Linked DNA regions of Homo sapiens: region 2 is linked to region 1. Evidence: promoter capture Hi-C in 16 types of primary human blood cells and fetal thymus (Javierre and others, 2016). All regions are on one chromosome and are shown on one strand. Each heading gives the region's core, a stretch centred on a gene start or on the middle of the fragment in contact. The rest is flanking DNA. Distances are from core to core; before and after follow the strand shown. Region 1 holds the start of ATXN1L (ataxin 1 like). Region 2 overlaps IST1 (IST1 factor associated with ESCRT-III).

The links. The method cuts DNA at HindIII sites, captures the fragments that hold promoters and counts their contacts. A CHiCAGO score of 5 or more calls a contact.
Region 2: a fragment that was not itself captured here is called in contact with the fragment with the promoter of ATXN1L in region 1 in 3 of 17 cell types (total CD4 T cells, activated CD4 T cells and total CD8 T cells); the score reaches 6.1 in total CD4 T cells.

The regions. Positions count from the first base shown.
Region 1 is chr16:71,841,766-71,848,716 of GRCh38, reverse strand. ATXN1L (ataxin 1 like) reads right to left here and starts at 2,741. Exons shown (of 3, transcript NM_001137675.4): 1 at 2,613-2,741; 2 at 646-707. RefSeq lists enhancers at 2,254-2,323, 2,125-2,896, 3,114-3,163, 2,897-3,669, 6,284-6,403 and a silencer at 2,544-2,853. The HindIII fragment of the contact is 5,556 bases long and covers 2,199-6,951 here.
Region 2 is chr16:71,915,571-71,922,521 of GRCh38, reverse strand. IST1 (IST1 factor associated with ESCRT-III) reads right to left here. Exons shown (of 10, transcript NM_001270975.2): 2 at 6,794-6,896; 3 at 5,880-6,060; 4 at 5,388-5,475; 5 at 1,700-1,783; 6 at 1,069-1,179; 7 at 1-48. The coding sequence starts at 6,881. Among named protein-coding and RNA genes, the nearest start is that of IST1, 24 kb to the right of the region's middle. RefSeq lists an enhancer at 3,010-3,189. The HindIII fragment of the contact is 4,233 bases long and covers 2,141-6,373 here.

The sequences.
Region 1 (6,951 bases), core at 1,492-3,991:
TCTGCTCGTGTTTTGTTTTTTTTTTTAAGACTTTGCTCCCTAACCAGGTTATGAAAATTAACATCTTTGACCCATGAAATAATACATTTTAACTCAGCCTCTATATAGTGAAAGTGATTAAACTAGTTTGCTGTCAACTTGTTTCTCCTCTTCACCAAAGAACAACAAAATTCTAAATTCTTCTGACCTTACGTACACTTCCGGTTCCCTAGTCTCAAAAGGCTTCTTCTCAATGATCACCTTCAATTTGCCTTCTCTATTCATTCCCTTTCTTTTTTCTTTGTGCTTTCTTTTACCAATAGCTCCTTCTCCACTGTAGGTCTGCTCCAGGCACCACTCCATGAAATTCTGGTTCCATTCCTCTAAACATGCCTGTTTTTTTCCCCGTATCTGTATGATTCATAAGAAAGTTCTCTTTCCCTTTTCTCTTATTGTCACCTTTCACAAATGCTTTTGTCCATTGTTATAAAGCAACTTTTTGGTCTGAACACTTCAGTGCACATGAACTTTGCTGCCTATTTCTTCCAACCAGGTTCCAGTTCTTTGGATCTGAAAAGAGCTTTCTATATTACATTCTGTTCTGTTTTTCCACTGTGACATCCCAGATATTTTCCTGAAACAAGGAATTCAAAGTGCCGGTATTACCTGAGTTTCCAGTGGTGCTTCTGAGCAGCTGTAGTAAGTGTCCTCCCGGCTGGCTCGGGAGCCTAGAAGATAGAAACAGGAATGGAGTAAGCGGCTGCCTGACCTCTAATTCTCCCCAGGGTCACCATGAAAGGTAATTCCAAAGCATTAGAGTATACACGTCCTTGCCTCATCTTCTTCTCCACAGGTAAACAGTACATTTACCCAGAGTGCCCAGGCAGTTGAACAGAGAGAAAAACACCTCTAATGCTCCAACTTGTAAGAAGACATCCCTGAAAAAAAATTTCCATGTATCAAATTTCATTGGTTTTCCGTAACATCATTTCCCTAACATCTACCTGTGCCTGTTCCCCAAAGGTTAAATTTGCTCCAATCCAAATTTCAGATAAACGCACAAATAAAAATGGAAGCTTTAACACTGTTCCCATATGAACAATGGGAAGCAGGAAAAATCAACTCTATGGATTTCCCCTTTATTCTGGGCCTATGAAAACATAAATGTGGAGTTATTTAAATGAAAAAAAGCAGCAGTAGATGAAAAAGAACAATTATTTATGTTTCTGGGGCAGAAAAAGAGGTCAGGGGGGAGTCACTCAAGGAGAAGACTTATTAAGAGATTTTCAGGGTTAAAAAAAAATGAGCATATGTGTGTGTGTATGTAAAATTTTCTGAGTGACAGTATACCAAGTGCTGAATCAGGTATGAAAGAAACTGAAAATATTGCCTTGGTCCTCAGCTGGCTAACACTGGTGAAACAAAACTACCACTAAACCATCACTATGTGAATCTACACTTGCCAGAAACGCAAAGCGAGAAAGAATGGAGCCTTAACCTCTGAAAACAGAGAAGGCAGTACAGATGAGTGAGTGCTCTGAGAAACTGACTATCCTGTCCAAGTCCTATAGAACACTCTAAGCCTCAACCCAAACCGAATGCAACATTTCTCTCTTAAGATTGGCAAGGTGCAGGTGTACACAAAAGGTGGAAGGATAGGAAAACACAGTGGGAAAACAAATTCCTAATTCCACAAACACATATTATTACACAGTGGCATAAATAATGACTCTTTTCTCCACCAGCAGCTTTAATAACTGAAAAGCAGCTTGCTTTCTTCTTCATTCCCAACAGAAACTGGGGTCACACTTCAATCCCAAAATGATCCTTGCTTTCTGTAACGAAAACTTTAAAGAAAACCTGCCTCCAGGTCACCGAGAAGTTAGCAAACACAGGCTAGTAAAGGGACCGAAAGAGGCAAAAGGTCTGCAGAAAGGAAAACAAAGAGCCAAGCCTGTGCGCCAGGTTCCCACAACGCAAAACACACTTAAGAATCCGAAACCTCCGCCTCTCGAGAACCTCACTGAGCATCTCAAAGGGAAAACGCAGCTTGTGACCCCAACCGAGCTAACAGGCTGTTCAGGAGAGTTGCCAACGCTGCTAGCAGAGCCCGGAACCAAGCTCCTCATCACGCTTGGGTCGGAATCAAGGGGCTGAACCCAGCTGGAGACCCAAATTCTCTGCGGGCGAGAGGTGCGCCCGACAGAAAGGGAGAAGCTTGTCAGAGACTACGGTTATGGCTCCCAGTGGTCCCGCAATCCTTGATCCAACAAGGGTAGGGCTCGAAATTGGGAATTCTGCGTTTAGAGAGTAGGGGGTCCACCCTTCACCAAGGGGGCAGGGGCGAGGCCCTGCAGGCGACGCTTCCTTGTTTGGGGGCCCTTCCCGCCCCACAGACTCGGACACCTTGGCTCGCAGGCACACAGCCTCCGGGGCGCCGGGGCCTGAGGCCACCTTCCAGGACAGGCCAGAGAGAAGCGCGAGGGGGTCTAGGTGCGGCCTCTCCCCTCCGTCTGTCCACGGTTCATGGGCCCCGGCCCGCCGGAGCAACGGGCTCCTGAGGGCCACTTCCTCCGGAGCACCGACCCCAGGCCTGCCTGGCCCCGGCGGCCACCACTTCCAGGGACACTCACCAGCCCATTTCACAGCGCTTCCCAGGATCCACTCACTCGTCCCGGAGCCGCCGCAACCGCGGCCGCCGCCATCCCCGGCCCCGGAGCCGCCCCACACCCAGCGCCCCCCACAGCCGGGCGCCCGGAGATGGCGTCAAGCTCGTCCCGCCCCCGGCGCGGAGAGATTGCGTCACGGCCGGGGTGGGAGAGCAACGCCCAGGACTCCCCGGGAAGGGAGGGTGCCACACTGCCTTCGCGTCGGGCGTTCCCTCTGGTGGGTGAACAAACTCCTCTCCCTGGGACCGGGTCACGTGAATAGGGCTGGGCCCGGCCCCCTCAGCCTGACCCCACAATGACCCCGCAATCTTTCCACCTCAGTAAATTTTGGGGGTTCCCAAACAGAGCCCCGGGGCGTGGTCATCGGCGACCCCCCATTTCCTGGACTTCTTGTCCTGACTTGTGCAGCCCCTTCTGGGGAACTTCGGGGGACCCCGAGGTGACCTAGGCTCAGGAGAAAAGGAGATACCTCTTACCTCTTGGGGACCCAGGTGGAGATAGGAAGTCTTCTTTTTTTCTTTTCTTTCTTTTTTTTGGAGACAGTTTCGCTCTTGTTGCCCAGGCTAGAGTGCAATGGCACGATCTCGGCTCACCCAACCTCCGCCTGCCAGGTTCAAGCAATTCTCCTATCTCAGCCTCCCGAGTAGCTGGGATTACAGGCATGCGCCACCACACCTGGCTAATTTTTTGTATTTTTAGTAGAGACAGGGTTTCTCCTTGCTGGTCAGGCTGGTCTCGAACTCCCGACCTCAGGTGATCCCCACACCTCGGCCTGCCAAAGTGCTGGGATTACAGGCGTGAGCCACCGTGCCAGGTCAATAGGAGCTCTGTAAGTGTTGAGAAGTGGCCCCCGAGGGAGCTAAGAGTGAACCCCACTCAGGATCTAGGGGAAGGTGACAAGGAGTGGAACACCTGAAAGTTTAGAGAGAGCCCGGGGTTTAGTACAGTGAGAAGCAGCTTGGTTTAGTGGAAAGAGGGCTTGACTACTCAGTGAAATATTATTCATTACAAATTAACTAATTATTCATTACAAATTAACTGGTCAACTTCATAGTAACATGAACATCTGATTAACTTAAGTGAAGACAAAAGTGAGCGCCAGTTGAATTTATGTTTGAATAACAACTGTGTTTTTGTTGTTGTTTGTTTTAAAGTATTAGGTTGGTGCAAAAGTAATTGCGGTTTTGGCCACCGAAATGGAGACTTTCAGTTTCTTCAAACTCTGTTCAATAAATAACAATTGGGCCAGGCGCGGTGGCTCACGCCTGCAATCCCAGCACTTTGGGAGGCCAAGGCCGGCGGATCACGAGGTCAGGAGATCGCAGACCATCCTGGCTAACACGGCGAAACCCCGTCTCTACTAAAAATACAGAAAATTAGCCGGGCATGGTGGCGGGCACCTGTACTCCCAGCTACTCGGGAGGCTGAAGCAGGAGAATGGCATGAACCCGGGAGGCAGAGCTTGCAGTGAGCCGAGATCGTGCCACTGCACTCCAGCCTGGGCAATAGAGTGAGACTCCGTCTTAAAAAAAAAAAAAGAAAAAAAAAGATATGTCATTGCAGTTGCGTGTATGTGTGTGTGTGTGTGTACATATAATTTTTTTTTTTTTTTAGCCCTGTCGCCCAGGTTAGAGTGCAGTGGTGCCATCTTAGCTCACTGCAGCCTCAAATTCCTGTGCTCAAGCAGTCCTCCCACCTCAGCCTCTGGGGTAGGTGCGATGATAGGCATGCACTACCATGCCCAGCTAATTTTTTAAAATTTCTTGCAGAGACAAGGTCTTGCTATGTTGCCCAGGCTGGTCTTAGACTCCTGTGCTCAAGTGATCTTCCCTCCTCGGCCTCCCAAAGTGCTGACATTTCAGTCATGAGCCAACCACACCCAGCGTCGGTTGTATGTATTTCTGTGTATCTGTACAGAAAAGGAGTAGAACACATAACTAATTAACATTGGTTATTTTTGGGAAGGAAAGTGGAATTGGGTGGTGGTCAAAAGGCAAAGAAACAACTTATATTATTGTTTGAATATTTAGGAGAATATTATCTTAGAAATAAAAAAAGTAAGTTGAGATCCAGATACAATGCATGATCTCTAAGATTCTTTCTAGGGAAGCCTTAGATCTCAATTATATTTTCTCACCTGGATGGACACATAGGGCCATAAAAAATTATCAAGTACCACACAGACACACACACAGACACACACACACACGCACACATACACACAGCACAAATGGGAAAAAACATAGTGAAGTTACTGCTGTCATCTAAATCATCTGAGTGTTTTGCTTCATTAATATTAATATTGTTCATGACAGTCTCCTTCTCTCTCAGTTTGGCCAAGAAGGAAGTCCTGTGGTCACTCAGTGTGTCCGTTTTAGCACTAACTAGCATTCTGGTTTCTAGTTCATTTCTTAGCTCACTAAACTGGCATTAAAATAGTCAAGATAGGAACCCTTGGACTATCCAAGCATATTCAAGGATAGCTAGTTTCTCCCAGATCAAGATATACACTCAGAGCTGGGTTTTCTGTACAAATTTGAAAGAGTAGACACAGGTAGATGTAAGCAAAAAAAAAGTTTTATGGCTACCAACCATTAACATAATGATGTACATGATACAAAAGCATGTCCATTAAAAAGTAAAAACAGGATGTTCTGATTGGTGAAACACAGGTGATTTCCGGGTTTGGCACTGCAGTCCCAAAAGGGTGGGTCATATGTCCGCTGTATCCCATTCCCAAACTCTTTACTACTCTGAGTAATCTTTTTTTCTTTGGTTGTATATCCTGATGGTAGAAAGCTCCATAGCAACAGTTTGACAGGTATATTAGTGATAAGTAAACTAATAAAGTTTTTAGATTTATGGCACAAAAATAACCAAAAGTTACCTAATTTATCCAAATATCTGTATTATTTTTCTGGAATCTGGGTAACACCCCTATTTAAGCTATTTATATTCAGTAAACCAGGCCGGGTGTGGTGGCTCACGCCTGTAATCCCAGCACTTTGGGAGGCCAAAGCAGGTGAATCACCTGAGGTCAGGAGTTCAAGACTAGCCTGGCCAGCTTGGTGAAACCCCATCTGTACTAAAAATACAAAAATTAGTTGGGCATGGTGGCCTGTGCCTATAATTCCAGCTACATGAGAGGCTGAGGCAGGATAATCACTTGAACCCAGGCGGCAAAGGTTGCAGTGAGCCGAGATCGTGCCACTGCACTCCAGCCTGGGCAACAAAGTGAGACTCTGTCTCAAAAACACAAACAAACAAAAACTGATAAAGTAAATGTTTTTTTGTTTTTGATGTGTTTTAGGTATTTGGGGTATTTGGAAAATGATAAGTTAAACTTCAATCTGTTTTGTCCACTTCTTCCCTTTCCCTGGATTCCTACTGAATTCCATTGTTGTGTATAGATTGAATTTTTGTGATGGAAGAGCTTGAGCTGCTCTGTTGGAAGGAAAACAAAAATAAAACCCTGTTAATGCTGGTTATTTTTCTCCCTGAGCAGTCAGGAGTTGCAAACTAGCTCTCTGTGTTACCTAGTTCTCACTGGTGACATTTCTTGTCCTGTAATACAGGGAGAGGAAACTCAGGAAACTACCCCAACTCTTTTTTGACAATGCAGATCAAACCAGAGAGAAGCACTGGTAACTTGGGAAACCATGCGTGTCATAACAAGAGGAGTAGGTGGCGTCTTTCATACTGTCATGTCTTCCTGTTTGTATACTTGAGCATGTCAAGGTGTCATTTTAGGAAAGGAACTTTATCTTTGGATGCCAATGGCAGAAACAACAACAAACCAGCCAGGCGCGGTGGCTCATGCCTGTAATCCCAGCACTTCATGAGGCCAAGGCAGGCAGATCACTCGAGGTCAGGAGTTCGAGACCAGCCTGGGCAACAGGGTGAAACCCTCTCTCTACTGAAAATACAAAAATGAGCCAGGCATTGTGGCAGGTGCCTGAATCCCGGCTACTCGGGAGGCTGAGGCAGGAGAATGGCTTGAACCCAGGAGGCACAGGTTACAGTGAGCTGAGATTGCACCACTGCACTCCAGCCCCAGTGACAGAGTGAGACTCTGTTTAAAAAAAAAGAACAGCAAATCCCAAGAATACACTGAAATTGTACTAGGCCAGGTGCAGTGGCTCACACCTGTAATCCCAGCACTTTGGGAGGCCGAGGCGGGTGGATCACGAGGTCAGGAGATCGAGACCATCCTGACTAACACAGTGAAACCCCATCTCTACTAAAAATACAAAAAATTAGCCGGACGTGGTGGTACGTGCCTGTAGTCCCAGCTACTCGGGAG
Region 2 (6,951 bases), core at 3,008-5,507, 72 kb before region 1:
GAATCCAACATCAATAAGATCTGTCTCTACCCCAGGAGGAGCTTCTGCCTGAGAAAAAAAGAGAAACCCAGGTCATTAACCCATGTCCAAGGCCAGGTTCCCCAGAAAGCGGAGTCTGAGATGGAGATTAGCATAAAGCAAGTTTACTGGAGTGCTTCTGGGATCAACACCTGTGGGGGAAGAAAAGGCAGAGTTAGGTGGAAGGAGAAGTTGGGCTGCAACACAGTCACAACAAAGGCCTCAGCCAATTCCCCAATGACTTCTGCAGCTGGAATGGACCTGATGGTGTTTCCAACTGTGGGTAATAGGGATGTCTGAGCAGTACACACCAAAGCATCCACCACACCCCACTGACCTTAACTGGCGGATGGTTTTTTTTTTTGAGACGGAGTCTCACTCTGTCACCCAGACTGGAGTGCAGTGGCACAATCTTGGCTCACCACAAGCTCTTCCACCTCCTGGGTTCAAGCCATTCTCCTGCCTCAGCCTCCCGAGTAGCTGAGATTACAGGTGCCCACCACCACACCCAGCTAATTTTTTGTATTTTTAGTAGAGACAGGGTTTCACCGTGTTAGCCAGGATGGTCTCGATCTCCTGACCTTGTGATCCGCCTGCCTCGGCCTCCCAAAGTGCTGGGATTACAGGCGTGAGCCAGCCACCGCACCTGGCCAACTGGTGGATGATTTTTTATCCCTGTATCCTCAGCTTTCTGTGCACTATCAGACACATGGTGGGTACCCAATAAATGTTTCGGGAACTGTTTGGGTCTTGGGGCATTTCTTGCTATGAACAGGAGGTTTCTCAATTCCTGAAGTTCACCAAAAAGTAGCAATAATAGTGCCATTTTACATTTGTATCAAGGTTTTGACCTTCTCAAAGTGTTGTCATTCATCTAATTCCTTAAGTACCCTGTGAGATATGCAGGCACATTTATTGTCATAAAGGTACTAACTGGACAAAGGCTTAAACTCACACAAATTTAAGTTAGTGCAAAGAATGTTTTTTTTGTTTTCCAAAGAAGGTCATACCTACAAACTCATTTTTCTTTGTATTCTGGGATAAACTTACCATGACCACAGAGTCAGGTTCATAGGGTACGTTGTAATTCTTTGCAATTTCAATCAGGTATCTCTCCACCAGGATTTTGGGTGGGGCTTCCACACTCAGCTTGTGCATTAGCTGTAAGTAAAAAGACCCAGGGCTAAGATGCATGTATACCAACCAGCCTAATCCTCACCTCACTATGCGAAGTTAGCTCCTCTCATTTTACAGGTAATATTGAGGGAAAAAAAGGTTCAGAGCAGTTAAATGATTTTTTTCAGAGTCACAAGACACATCAGAGGACCCAAGTCTCTCTTTCACATTCTCATTACACATGACCCAGATGCTGGCAAAAGATGATACTGCTGCCTTCCACAGTTCAATTCATCCACCCTTCTCCCCACCTCACTTCCAACCTTCACAAATGACACGAGGCATACAAAGTGGGGAAGTGGAGTCAGGAATGACAGTAACCAGAGGAATTGGGCAGGTGTAAGGATTGGACCACACTGCCAGCCACACAGCTGTCCTCCTCACCCCACTATGAAAGGTGAAACCCCATACTGAGCAATACAGTGGTACCCACTAGAATTGCCACAAGCAGTACAATAAACTGCTCCCACACACTGCCTTCATGTTTACCAAGTATGTTCATTACCCTGTCATTCACAGTTCCAATCTGGTTGGTCCTACATAGCTTGCCATATTCCTTGCTATACTTGGCACAGAGCTGATCAGCAACCTAAAAAGAAAAAGGACAGCAAATAAAAATAGAGACCACTCCAACGGACTGCTTTAAGCTTCTTCCTGGCAACAGTAAACACGCGTCTATTACAAGATTTCCAAAACACTGGAGTCTGCAAAACCTTAAGGGGTATGCATTAATCCACTATTTGTTCATCCATCCATCCATCCATCCAATGAGCAGCACTCGAGTGCCAAACACTATCATGAGTATTATACAATATAAATAAAATGAACAAAACAGATACTGTTCTTACTCTTATAGAGTCTTACATTAATCAAATTGTACAAAGTAAAGTTTCCTCTTCAAAATTTCCCTTGTTAAAGAATAAATCATAAGTGTTAGAAATAAGCTTCTTTTAAAAGACTAACTTCCTTCAAGCCTCCTTGCTTTGTGCTAATAACTCTTTGTTAAGCCGTATCCTATGTAGCTGTTAAATATAAGAAATACATTCTATGTCCTTGTACTTTAACCAAGATATCTGTGCTAGATGTGCTCACAGGCAAGTCCCAGCTCGCAGCCTATGCCCCTTCCTTATTTGGGAATGTTAGTACTTTTCTAAGTCTTCTCATAAGCAAGTTCCTCTTTTCCTTTGTTCTCCCTTGCATATATCTATTTTAAAAACTTTTAAAACCTTTAGCCAAACGGGTGTAGCCCAGACTGTGAGGTCCAGTTCCAGCCAATGGAATCAGGACACAGCAGTAGGGTCCAGATGTGTAGGATATAAATATTTTTACCCCCTTTGTTCAGTGTGCGCTCGCCATTGTTCCATCTGCAAGGAGCACCCTTTCTGCAGAAGGTAAAAATTGCCTTGCTGAAATAAATTTATATTTGAGTGCTATTTCTCTGTGGCACTGGGGAACAAGCATTTCTAACAAAATAATCACACAGATAAAGGTACAACTGCAACTACAGTAAGTGATACCAAGGGAAGGTGCACCATGCTATCACCAGCTTCTAACAGCAGAATCAAATCTGATCAGAAAAGTCAGGTAAGGCTTCCTGAGGGAAGTGATGCTTTGCTGAGATTTAAAGGATGACTAAGGCCAGGCATCGTGGCTCATGCCTGTAATCCCAACACTTTGTGAGGCTGAGGCAGGCTGATCACTTGAGTTCAGGTGTTCAAGACCAGCCTGGGCAACGCAGCAAAACCCTAGTCTCTATTTTTAAAAGATACAAAAATTAGCTGGGCATGGTGGCACGCACCTCTTGTCTCAGCTACTCAGGGGGCTGAGGTGGGAGGATGATCAGTTGAGCCCAGGAAGCCGAGGCTGCAGTGAGGCAAGATCGTGCCACTGCACTCCAGCCTGGGTGACAGATCAAGACCGTCTCAAATAATAAATTAAAGGATGACTAGGAGTTAACTAAATAGGGAAGGAAGCACATTCCAGGAAAAGAAAACAGCAGTGCAAAGGCCTCTGGCAGAAACAAACATGGTCAGTTCTCAAGCCTGCAATCAGCCAGTGAGCCTCTAGTGCAGAGGCCAAGGAGTGTGGTAAGAAATGAAAAAGGGAAGTGGGAGCCAGACAATGCAGGACCATGTAGGCTGTATCAGGGAGTTTTGTTTCTATCACAAGAGCAACAGAAAGCTACTAATGGGCTTTAAAGCAAGAGGTCGTGACAGGATCGGAGCTGTGTTTTGGACAAAACCCTCAGGTGGTTCTGATGGAATGGTGTGAATAGATTAAAAGAAGCCAAAGTAGGAATAGGAAGAATATTCAAGAAGCTACTCTCATTTCCAGACAGGAAACGACAGTAGCATTGGACCAGAGTGGTCCCAACATTCCAGAAGCCCAGTAGGAGAGTTCTCACTGTTCATTATGAAGACTTTCAGGGGTACCTGACACCTATGATATAAATGGCATTTGTCTTTTATGGTTTTTGTTTTGGCTGGTTTATACTACACAGAGATTTTTTTATTCACATTAATTTATCACTCTGTTTATGGCTTTTGAGTTTTGTAACATATTTAAGCCTTTTCCAAAATTAATTTTAAAGGAGTACAGAAGAGACCAAAAACGGCTCAACATGGTGGCTCACGCCTGTAATCCCAACACTTTGGGAGGCCGAGGCAGGCGGATCACGAGGTCAGGAGTTCGAGACCAGCCTGGTCAACATGATGAAATCCCGTCTCTACCAAAAATACAAAAAATTAGCTGGGCATGGTGGCGGGCACCTGTAATCCCAGCTACTAAGGACGATGAGGCAAAAGAATCGCTTCAACCCAGGAGGCAGAGGTTGCAGTGAGCCAAAATTGTACCACTGCACTCCAGCCCAGGCAACACTGCAAGACTCCATCTCAAAAAAAAAAAAAAAAAGCCTACATAAGAATCAGTTGCCTCTACTGTCCCTCTTCTCTGCCCACAAAACTCAATTACTATCCCTGGTACCCTATTGGACTATTGGAAGTTTATTCTCTGGGGGGAGTTAACTAAAGCGACTCGAGTCTACACACAGGAGACAACAGTGATACTTACAACAGAAGAATTAAGTGTAAGTCTTCTATGTATCAAATAGATTTTTGGCTTCCTTCTCCACTGGGCTCTCAGAAATGCTGGCAGCCAGCTTATACACTCGACAGAAGATAGGAGGATTCTGGAGAAAACGACCAACCCAAGGAAAGATGACTAGTTCCTCACAGTCTGGAATTCCTCCAAATAAGAGCTTAACCAGATCACTCAGCAATGAAGGCATCTGGCAGTAAAAACCCACCCATGCACACGAGAGGTTCCAATCTCCTTTTTAGTGCCTCACTCTTAAATGTAAACCGACAGCCAAGGACCACTAAATCTTTGGAAAGCCTCTACTATAAAACTAAGAAATAGGAAAAATGAACTTGAGAGAAACAAACATGACAGACGTTTAAAAATAAACCATAATTAATATCCTCAGAGACTTAGAAAAAATTGTAGCCATGAAACAAACCATAAAAAATATTCAGAGAATTAAAAAGAGCTCTTGAAAAAAACCTAGAAAAGAAGGAAATCTCAGTAGATGGGTTGAGAGATAAGAATGACACAGTCTCCTAGGAAATAAAACAGAAAGGCAAAGATGTAGAAAATAGAAAACAACACAACTGAATTTGTATCCTAGGAGTCAGTACCATATCCATGTTGTGATGTGCAATTTTCTGGTTAATGTCTGTCTCTTCTGCTAGACTCTAAGCTACAGGAGTATGGCTGGTGCCATATTTTGTTCACCACTGTTACCCCCAGCACTTACATAGCTCATACAATTTATTTAATAAATATTTGTGGAATTAATAAATAAAGCAAAAACATCTGTCACCTTAATGTTATTTTAACTTTACTGGTTTACAGTTGTATAAGAACTTTTCTATTTGCATAGAGTTAAATAACATTAAGACAAAACTGGAGATACACAAAACTTTGCTCCTTAAAAAAACTGCTCAAGTTTGCAAAACACTGTTCTATTCTACGATATAAGGCTGAAAGGGAGAAACAAATTTACAAAACCTATTTCAAAAGCAACATAAGAATGGTACAAAATATCTGGTCAAATCAGCAGAAGTAACTTATATTAACCAACCTTTCTAACAATATGAAAAGCTACAGACATCACTGAAACTACTTGTACTCACTATTTTCAACTCAGCCACTTCTGACTGGAGTCGAGGAGCAGCCCAGATCAATGTAGACACAGATTCAGCCAGACCAGAATCTAGTTCCCTAATCAAGGAAAAAAATTAATATAACATTCTTTAAAACAAACCAACAAAATCCTAGCTTTTGTTTCATATACTTTATAGCCTCCAAAGCCATTCTGTGAATCTCACTAGATTCTCACAATAACTCTAGGCTTCTAGCCATTTTCGTGATCTTATTTTACTTTTGGAGGAACTCAAAACTAGGCAACAAGCTCAAGGCCATGAACTCGGAAAATGGTCGAGCCAAGATTCAAATTTAGGCTTCTCAGTTTCAGATTCTGTATTTTCTTTTTAACAGGCCTTTCAGCAACTGTTAGGCAGCAGATCCTTGGGCATGTGAAATAGTCCCTTAATGCAGAAAGAGATCATATTACTCCTTTCTCAAATTCCAGAAATGATTTAGGTCTCTGAATCAAAATATCTTACTTCATAGACTGGATAAGGCCAAACCGAGCCAGCAGCAGGTCACAGTACAGCTCCAGGATCTCCATGGCCTCCACGAGGTAGTCTTCCCGGATAATGTGCTCCACACGGATCCGAGCTCGTTCATCTTTCCCAGCAGCCAGATAGTCAGCAATCTCCTTCCTTGCTTTCTGGGCCAGTTCCGCTAAGACACAAATCCCACTCCGATCTCACAGCAGTAGAGCACTTGCATCTGGCCTACAGGCCAATCTCCCCCCAACAGGAAGAACTGGGTGTTTCTACTATATCCTAGCTCCTCTCCTTTAGCAAATCTAATCCCATCCCCTCTACTGTAGAATTTGCTACTCTGTCTAGGTGAGAAAATATAGCTCATGTGGCTTGACATTTCCAACTCAAGAGTCAGGTGACCTAATGCCACAACAACAGAGTATGTCCCTTTCTCTGCAAAAAAGGTACTCAGTCTAAAAGTCACAAAGGGCAGAAATGGATCCAAAGCTTAAAAGATATGATCCCAGGGCGGGCATGGTAGCTCACGCCTGTAATCCCAGCACTTTGGGAGGCTGAGGCAGGCAGATGACTTTGAGGTCATGAGTGCAAGACCAGCCTGGCCAACGTGGTGAAATCCCGTCTCTACTAAAAACATGAAAATTAGCCAGGTGTGGTGGCACACACCTGTAATCCCAGCTACTTGGGAGGCTGAGGCACAAGAATCACTTGAACCCACGAGATGGAGGTTGCAGTGAGCCGAGATCACACCACTGCACTCCATCCTGGGCGACAGAGTGAGACCCTGTCTCAACAAAAACAACAAAAAAAAATATGATCCCTAAGACTTCATAGTACTGGCCTGAAAGACCCATTACTGGGGTGCTAGTATCCAGTGATTTATTTTTGGGGAAAAAAAGTACACTACTCACTTTTCTTTTTCTCCAATAGTTTAAGGCGATTTATGACTAATCTCAAATTCACTCTTAAGCGCTCAGCTTTAAATCCAGAGCCCAGCATGCTGTGCTGTTCCTCCTAGAAACAGAAGAAGCACAATGACTATTTTCAAGTCAACATTAGTTCAGGAACT